Linked DNA regions of Homo sapiens: region 1 is linked to region 2. Evidence: promoter capture Hi-C in human tissues and cell types (Jung and others, 2019). All regions are on one chromosome and are shown on one strand. The core of a region is centred on a gene start or on the middle of the fragment in contact, and the rest is flanking DNA. Distances in the headings are between cores, read along the strand shown. Region 1 overlaps LOC105374957 (a long non-coding RNA gene). Region 2 holds the start of MBOAT1 (membrane bound glycerophospholipid O-acyltransferase 1).

What was found. The method cuts DNA at HindIII sites, captures the fragments that hold promoters and counts their contacts. A contact is called where the count stands out against the background at its distance.
Region 1: a fragment that was not itself captured here is called in contact with the fragment with the promoter of MBOAT1 in region 2 in 1 of the 25 tissues and cell types used here (dorsolateral prefrontal cortex).

Annotation. Positions count from the first base shown.
Region 1 is chr6:18,746,549-18,750,721 of GRCh38, reverse strand. LOC105374957 (a long non-coding RNA gene) reads left to right here. Exons shown (of 3, transcript XR_926557.3): 2 at 2,568-2,633; 3 at 3,770-4,034. Among named protein-coding and RNA genes, the nearest start is that of TRQ-CTG1-1, 88 kb to the left of the region's middle. RefSeq lists an enhancer at 1,010-1,304. The HindIII fragment of the contact is 3,555 bases long and covers 872-4,173 here.
Region 2 is chr6:20,209,804-20,214,138 of GRCh38, reverse strand. It overlaps MBOAT1 (membrane bound glycerophospholipid O-acyltransferase 1), which reads left to right and starts at 1,670. Exons shown (of 13, transcript NM_001080480.3): 1 at 1,670-2,003. The coding sequence starts at 1,905. RefSeq lists an enhancer at 642-1,142 and a silencer at 1,325-1,864. The HindIII fragment of the contact is 7,104 bases long and covers 1-4,335 here.

The DNA of each region.
Region 1 (4,173 bases), core at 1,400-3,899, 1.5 Mb after region 2:
TCTCCTTTCTGCCCGCAGCATTTCAGCGTTTGAGTGGGCAACCCAGCCACCTGTCCTTCTTCAGAGAATTTATATAGCCCCTCATTTTGCCTCTCATTGCATTAGATAATGAAGTTAAAACAGACTCTCTTTCACATTTGGGATGAAAAATCACCAAGCTTCTATGCAGAAAATTTCTTTTCTTTACTCAAACCTCTGAGGGATCCAGAATGGCATTTTCAGGTGACATGGACATGTGCAGGTCAGCGAGGTCAGGAAGAGAGCTGACTCAAACCGTTTCTTCTTGACATTGACCTGCCACTACATATTAACATATAAAGAGCTTATGAGGACCTGAGTTGAAAATACTTCCATTTACAAGGAAGTAAACTGAGGCTCACAGAATTGCAGCAGCTTACCTGAGAACAGAGGCAGGACCGAGCTCAAGAGGCAGAGGTGGCCCTGGAAGATGTTGAAAATCACTTTGTATTAAGCCACTCTGCAACTACTTAGGAATCATATTTTTAAAACGTATTTTATTAACCAGAATTCAACTCTACCTGTAGCTCCGCTATTCATAAGGATCATCACAAATTGATTGTTCAATGTTGTATTAATTCCTATTACACATTTTCATGGCTAAATATAGAAAAATAATGACTTTCACATTTTTTTAAATGAGAGTGTAAAATTCTTGAATGCTAGAGTGACATATATTTAAAGGCACCCGAGAAATTAGTCTGCTGATTTTCCATGTCTTATACATCCAAAATCTCACAGCTCAAGTTTTCATTTTCACCATGTATTTTGGCAGCTTCTAAGATAACCCCAAATAATTACACTGTTTTCTTAGGGCTGTTAGAATAAGGGTCTATATACTCCTTATACAAACCTACAACAGTTTGAGTCTTCACAAATCAAATCATTGAGACTACACACCCACACAGAAGCTATAATGAAAGGAGTTTATAAATAAAAGGGTTTTTTACCACCTACTCTCTGAACCATCATATTCCTCTGGAAGGAAGTTTTAAAAGAAAAAAAATGAGAGAAAATGGCTGTGTGTGTGTGTGTGTGTGTATGAGAGGGAGAGAGAGAGGGAGAGAGAGAGAGAGAGAGAGAGAGAGAGAGAGAGTGTGTGTGTGTGTGTGTGTGTGTGTGTGTGTGTGTGCGCGCGCGCACGCGCGCGCAGGATCAGATTGCCCTCTGGTGGACAGTTTATTTCTTCCTTCTTTTAAGATACAACAAAGGAGAAAGAAAAGTAACAATAAAAAAACAGGGAAAAAGGAAACTAGAAAATTAAAAAGCAGAGGAAAAATTGGGAAAGGAAAGAATATAGAAAAGAACAAAGTCAAGAAAAAGGAATGGAACTAGGAAATACTGGTGAAAGACAATAAGGAAATCAAGGAAAAAGAAAGAAGGTTGAGGATCGTGAGAAAAAAAAACAAAGACCAAAAACTGGCTAGTGTCACCTTATACTTAATCAATCCTGGAATTATTTATGGAGAAATAAAATACTTGTAATTACAAATGCTAACTATATCTGGCATTTTAACTTGTTAAACGTTTTCAACATATCTGCTAACTACATGCATGTAAAGTAAGCTTTAATAGCAGCTGTTAGACTTCATGAGAATTGGGGGAGCGTTTTGCAGAACCTAACTGAGAAGAAAGTTTAGAAAAGAAAAACTGCTTTTCTTTACACTTTTTAAAAGTTGCATATAAATCCCAACCGAACATACAAGTCAAGACACGGTGTGCTTTGGCATTTTACATATTTACCATAAAAAGGGGTTTAAAATGTGTACTTTTTTTAATGTTATTGACTGATTGAATAATTTGCTCATAGATTTTTTAGCCATTTGGATGTCTTGAGAGGGAAAAACCACAGGTTAAAATATTATAAAATTTAAGATAAATAAGTTTTAAAAATCCAGTTTGTTACATAAGGAGTACCATAGACAATTGTTTTATTGACAACTGCCAATGTCTCCCACTCATTCTATTATAAAAGTTTGGAATGTGTAACATTTATGTTAGCTAAGCGGAAAGAAACATTCAGAGGAAGCTCAAAGCATCATCCTCATGCCCTCAAACCTGCATTTACCAGAAATACCTGCAGCCAGGGCCACGGCCCCTCTGCCCAGGAGTAGACATAACACTTCCACTGCCTGCTGTGAGCGCACGCTGCAAGGACCCAGAAGAGCAGCTCTCAAGCCCAGCTCCTAATCTTTTCTCCTTAGCCTGCACCAGTGTAGAGCTCAGTGCCTTCCAGGGGCTTAACACCACCGCCCTGCACTACTGAAACAAACACAGTGGTCTCCCACCTTGTTGAATTCACCAACAATGGCTTTCTGCTATAATAAGGCTGTAAGCTCCTTTAAACGGTTATTCAAAGAGATGCTTTAGGAGAGAATAGAATTAGGTTCATTGAAAGTCTTTTAAGCAATCTTGGAGCATACAACCAAACTGAAGCTCAGTGATGGAGAAAGGGAATGCGTACACATCGGTTGTGGCAGAAATCAGAGGCACAGATGTAACAGAGGGGGAACAAAAACAAATTCTGAAGTTCTTTTTTCCATACACAGACCTGTTCCTTCTACCCAAGAAAGAACAGTTAATGAAGCCACATGAGCATCCCTCCCTGCCAACAGGTAAGAAGTCCTGAGGCTATGACCCCTTGTCCCTCCTCCTCAAGGGCACACCTGGGCACAGTGGCATCTCCTGAGTTCATTCTTGGCTTCACTTCCTCCTCTCAATTTATTTACTACTGTTATTTATTTCTATACTGAAAAGGAAAACCTACTTATCTCCACTAAGAACCTTCATTTTTGCTCAACCACAAGAAAATGAGCTTCCTGCTCTGCATGCAGGGTTCAGACAATAGGAAACATAGCTCTGCAATGGTGGGGGTAGAAATTCTAAATATCGTTAATGACAAATGTCTCCCAACTTTAATGTGATAAAGGTTTCACACCCAGGATAAAATGTATTTCCCATGTTTCAAAAGTTTTAACTTGGAAGATCATTGTTAGAACAGTTAACTTCGTCGGGGGAGGCATCACTGACTATACAGAGTTTGATGATACTAGAAGGTAAGTCCTCAACTTTAGAACTGGATACCAAAAAAAAAAAAAAGTTGGCAATTTTCTTTTGAGAAATTACAAACTTATCAAAACCAAAAATGTGGGGGTTTTCTTTCTCACTAAGCTAACGGGGTCAGTTTTCCCAAATGTCTAAATCAATCCATGACTGTAAATAGGACAATCGCAAAAACGTCAATTATTTTAGATGATAAAGATGATACATTTAAGCCTTATTTCTGCTTTGCAGCAATTTGGGGTGCTCACAAACAGTAATGCTAACTGTTGGCATTTATTATCAAGTGTGATGGGTAGAGTACCTCTCTAAACATAATCCAGGGTGCTAATGACAGAATGATCAGCTATATTTCAAACTGTTTGTAATACAAACTTTGTGCTTTCAGCAATTTGAGAAAATCAAAAATGATCTCAATTTTTGAAAATAACATCCTATTTAACCTAACTCTAGAAAAACGAAGCTTCAATCAATCAAGTTAGTTAAAAGAACATTTCTGTAACTAGATTAACTCATGCAATTCTCATTTATAAGATTAATTTTACTTGAGGCTCATAATTATTTCCTTAGTAATTACTAGCTTAGGCCCACAGCTATTGACTCTAAATTTCTTTATTCATTCAGAAAACATTTATTGACTACTAGGTGCTAGGAATACAATGTTGTTCTATTTTTAATCCATATTTTTCAGGTGTACACCTTAGAGAAGAGACAGACAAGTATATGACGTAATCGGATAAATGTCTCGACAATCTATTACAGCAGCTCAACAAAGGGCCACCTAATTGAACCTGGAAGTATCAGGAAGGCTTCCTGGAAAACGTGATAGCTAAGTGGAGTTTTTAACAATAGTAGTAATAATAACAACCTTGTTATTCTAAATGGTTCATATTTATTTTTTAATAAAAAATATTTCATATTTTTTATTTATGAATAAATATTTAATATTTGCAGCAGCCCCATGATCAATGTACTATTATTATCCATTTTACAGATAAGCAGGTGGAGGTAAAAAGGGGTTAAGTTACTTGCCCAAGTCAGTACAGACAGAGAGTGAAAGGGTCAGGATATAAATCTAGTCTAGCCTGAATCCAT
Region 2 (4,335 bases), core at 421-2,920:
AAACCTGTGTAAGGCTAATATATGTACATATAAAACTTTACATATATAAATATATTTATATATGATTATATAAATTAATATATTTATAATAAATATATATACACACGCACACACACACACATATATATATATGGCCTATGTGAGGACTATTCTTTGAAGTCTAAAAGGCATAGCTTTGTGAAAATTATAAAGGGTCTGAGGCACTTGCTCCAGAAATACTTCCCAAACTGACCTACTTCTGTTTTCCAGCAACTCATATCTGAGTGTTGATTTTTTTTTCCTTTTAAACAAAGCTCCGTCTGCTCTCATATACCTCACTTCAGCTGTCATCTAGCTCCAGATAAGATGAATGTTGCTCCAATGCTGGTCATTTTCCAGGACTCTATGATATTAAATGAACCTATCTAGCCTAGTGATCCTCAAGTATATGCCTGTGTGCGTGTGTGCATGTGTCTGTCTGTCTGTAGTGTGGGTTTGCTTGTGAGTGGTAGAGATTATCATCTGGTGGTGACATCTCCATTCGGTTAGCTTGTGGGAGTGGTGGTACAGACTTTTTTTTTTCCTCCTCCACAGGGGACATAGGTTGAGAAACTCTGGCCTGGCAATTTAATGCTCAGTGCAGTTTGATGGTGATAAAACTCCTGAAGAAGGCAAGAGTGAGGCCTGAGTCTTGGAGAGTAAGTTGTTGCCAGTGCCTGACAGGCCTTCGGTTTAATTTGAAGCTGGAGGCCACATTGATAAAGTCGGCCCCGAAAGTCATTGCCTGTCTGATCGAATGCCGGTTTACCCAGCGGAGGCTGGGGGCCACGTGAGCTCACTTTCTTTGGTTTTCTACCCAGCAGCCCAGAATATTACCTTCCTGAAACCCTTTTTCATCAGCTAGCGATTCCTGAAAAGGATCTTCAAGATTTTTATGTTTCTCAGAACCTAGCAATAACTTGGAAAAGTTTTCCAAGTAACATTGATGTGTGGGTGTTCGGGGGCAGACAAGTTAAGGAGCAAGGCACCCTTTTTGAGGACCCGTGGCATGCAAATGACTTATCAGAATGCACATAGTATGACAGTAAACACCGTTTCTTACAGAGGTGAAATAACTCTCACTCCACAGAGACGGAAGTGACCCGAAGCTAGCAGTCCCCTGTATTTGCTTGTGTGACACCGAACATGTCAGATCAGGGTGTAGGAAACTATGCCTAGCGCAGAGGAGGGTAAAGGAAGTAGGGAGTCTGGTGGCTGCGGCGCTCCAGCTTCCAGCCACCGGCAGAGGAACCCTCTACGGCTTGAAAGGGAAACGCAGCCACTCAGCCGCTTCGACTGCGGCGGCGAAACCAAAACAGGGTGGGGCGGGGTGGGTGGTGCTCTCTAGTGGAAGGCGCCCGCTGGGTGAGGTCGTTTTGTCTGGCGGGGGGCTAGGACGGTCAGCCCGGGAGGAGGAAAGGCGCGTCCCGCCTCCAGCTGCAGGGCCAGGCGGCGGCGCCCGCTGGCGTCGCTTTCCCTCTCCCGGTCGGCCTCGGTGCAGGCCAGGCTGGGCGGGCCGGGCGGCGCTTGGGGGCCGGGCTCGGAGTCCCCACTTTTCCTCCCTCCTTCCCTCCTCTCGGGGCCGTCCCGAGCGGCCGGGCCAATGGGCGCGGAGAGGAAGGGAGCGGGAAGCGGGGCGCCTTGGGCCCGGCCCTCCTACGGCGCCCGTGGCTGCAGCGCCAGCGCCAAAGCCAAGTTTGCGCCTCGAGAGTTTGCGCCTCGAGAGTTTGCGCCGGTTCGCATTCCCCGGCCTCCCGTTCGCTCCCCCGCGAACCAGGCGGCCGTGCGCCTCTCGGGGCAACCACCCAAGAGCACCCGGGCGGGAGGACGCCGAGCAGGGGGTGTTGCGGGCTGGGACAGGGGCAGCCACCTCCCGAAGATGCAGGATGGCAGCAGAGCCGCAGCCGTCCAGCCTTTCCTACCGCACCACGGGCTCCACCTACCTGCACCCGCTCAGCGAGCTCCTGGGCATCCCGCTGGACCAGGTAACTGCAGGCCGGGAGCGCAGCGACCCCAGCTCCCCAGCGATCGCGTGCACGGGGCGGGCGAAAGTGTTAGCCACCGTCCCTCCGCCTCCATGGCGTATTTTACAGCCACACACTAGACAGTTGGTTTTTGTGTGTGTGTGTGTGTGTGTGTGTGTGTGTGTGTTTTCCCTTCTTGAGTTGGTGTTAGTGTTTTTCTCCTTGTAAGTGTGAAAAAATATTGGTACAGCCTGCGCGGCAAGTTCTACTGAACTTTTTTTTCTTTAAGTTTGGGATTGCCTCGTTTCCTGTAATCAAGTTCTGAAGTAGTCTGATACATGAAACCAGTGTTTCTTTCATCAGTGTCCTCAAGTCGTTATTGTTTTTAATTTAGATGACCCTACTTAAAAAACAAGCGCGATGAATCTGTAGACGGTAGTCTATAGATTTTGAATGCAGGACCTGGGTTTTAGACTTCTGAGGCGAGGCTTGTTCAGGGGTGACAGTTATTTTGTACCGTGTGTGATGCGGGACACACAAGGACACTTTGGTTTTCCCAGGGTTCGGTTGGCTCATATGCCTGGGGCTGGAGCTTCTGAGTAGGACAGGTTAGGGGGAGGAGAGGGGCCCCAGTGAAGTTATTTGAACTGTCCAGGAATTATCTACAACCATTAAAATTAAAAATGGCAACAACAGTGATTCCTGGCAAGAAACCTTCCTGAAGATGAAGCCCGTCTTACTCATTTCCTTGTCTCTTCAGGTGCTGCAGGCTAGATCTGCGGGATACTTAGTAGTGACCCAATCAGTAAATGTTGATTTAAATAGAATTGGGCAGGGCATGCTGGGGGAGGACCCACTGCGCTCCTGTTTTGTTTCATGCTTTTTTGCCTGGTTTTCTTCCCCTTCCTCTCACCAGTGCTCCTTTTCCTTTCCTTTTAACAAGAGCACACCTGCTGCCCTTTGCGCACACCCCTTCAGCAATGAGAAAGTGAGACCTGGACATTTGCCTTATTCGGGTCCTGTTTACTGAGCCACCCTCATACCTGGCTCACTCTGAGGACCTGACTGAGAACTCCACCTGATGTGACCATTGCGTTCTCATCAGTTGCAGAATACAGAAAGTCAGAAACTTGGGAAGGGTTTCGGTGCCAAAGCATTTGTGCTTTTGTAAATTACTCTTTAGTTTCTGGTGAGGATGAGATAGACCCAGGGACCCAGGCAGAGGCGGACATAATAGCAAATTCTTTAGTTCTGAAATTAAATAAAACTCATAGCTGAATTTCCTTAAGGGGAGTTTGTTTTGTACTTACCTCTCCACTCCCTATCAGAAGGTATTTTAATTGCATTTTCTCTTCTAAGCTCTTCTACACAGCTAGAAAGACTCCAGGAAGGCTTTTTGTATGGCTAAAGGACCATGGCAAGTTATGGCTGGGAGGTGCTAGAATAATGTTTTTAATGTCTTTCAATTGCATCCCCTACTTTCCTATAAAGGTAATTCTGGTTTTAATTCATAAAAAGGAACAAAAGAGCCTTAGGAATGTTTAAAACTGGGAGGGAGGGAGGGAGGGAGGGAGGGAGAGACTTCTGGGATAAACCGAAGGAGAAATGTTTGCCATGGCCAGGAGCACCTGAGATCTCTTAGCTCTTAGGTCAGTCTGACCACCCTCCAGCAGGAGTGAGTGTGGATGACCCTTGGTGGAAGAAGCACTTAAAAGGCAGTGCCCCAGGTAGCTTATTTTAGGCCCAAGGAAAATCCCCAAACCATAAATAAGGTCGTTTGAGGCTACGTTGTGGCTTGCGAGTTTGGAAGCTTTGTGTGTTTTTTCCCTTTCACATTTTTAAGGCTTTTTAAAGGCTTAGATGTCAGACTGACCTGGGTGCAATTCCAGTTCTGCCAGCAAACTTCCCTTTGTGACTGCCAGCTGGTACTCTACCCTCTTGGAGACTCAGCATCCTCATGTAAAATGGGAGATGACAATAAGACCTACCTTTTGAGGTTGAGAAATTTTATATGATGTGAAATGCCCGACATTAGGAAGGTTCTTGTATCAGGGTCCTTGCAGGAAACGGGAACCAACCCCATTGGCTGAAATGAACAGACTTTAATGAATTACTTAGAGGGGTATGGGCAAGTTTAAGGGAATCAACAAAGGATGTTGAGATGCTGAGATCAGAAGTAGGGGGCAGCTGGAGGGGAAAGTGGAGTTACTTCATTGCCATTTGTGAGAGCTGGACCTGCCTGGAGGTCATGAAGAATCAGAGAGAGAACCTCAGCCCTTCTTCCTACCTTGTAGCCCTTCCATCTCTTCACAGTGGCCCCCAAGGCCTCAGCCTGCAGGGGCTCCTCCTGTGG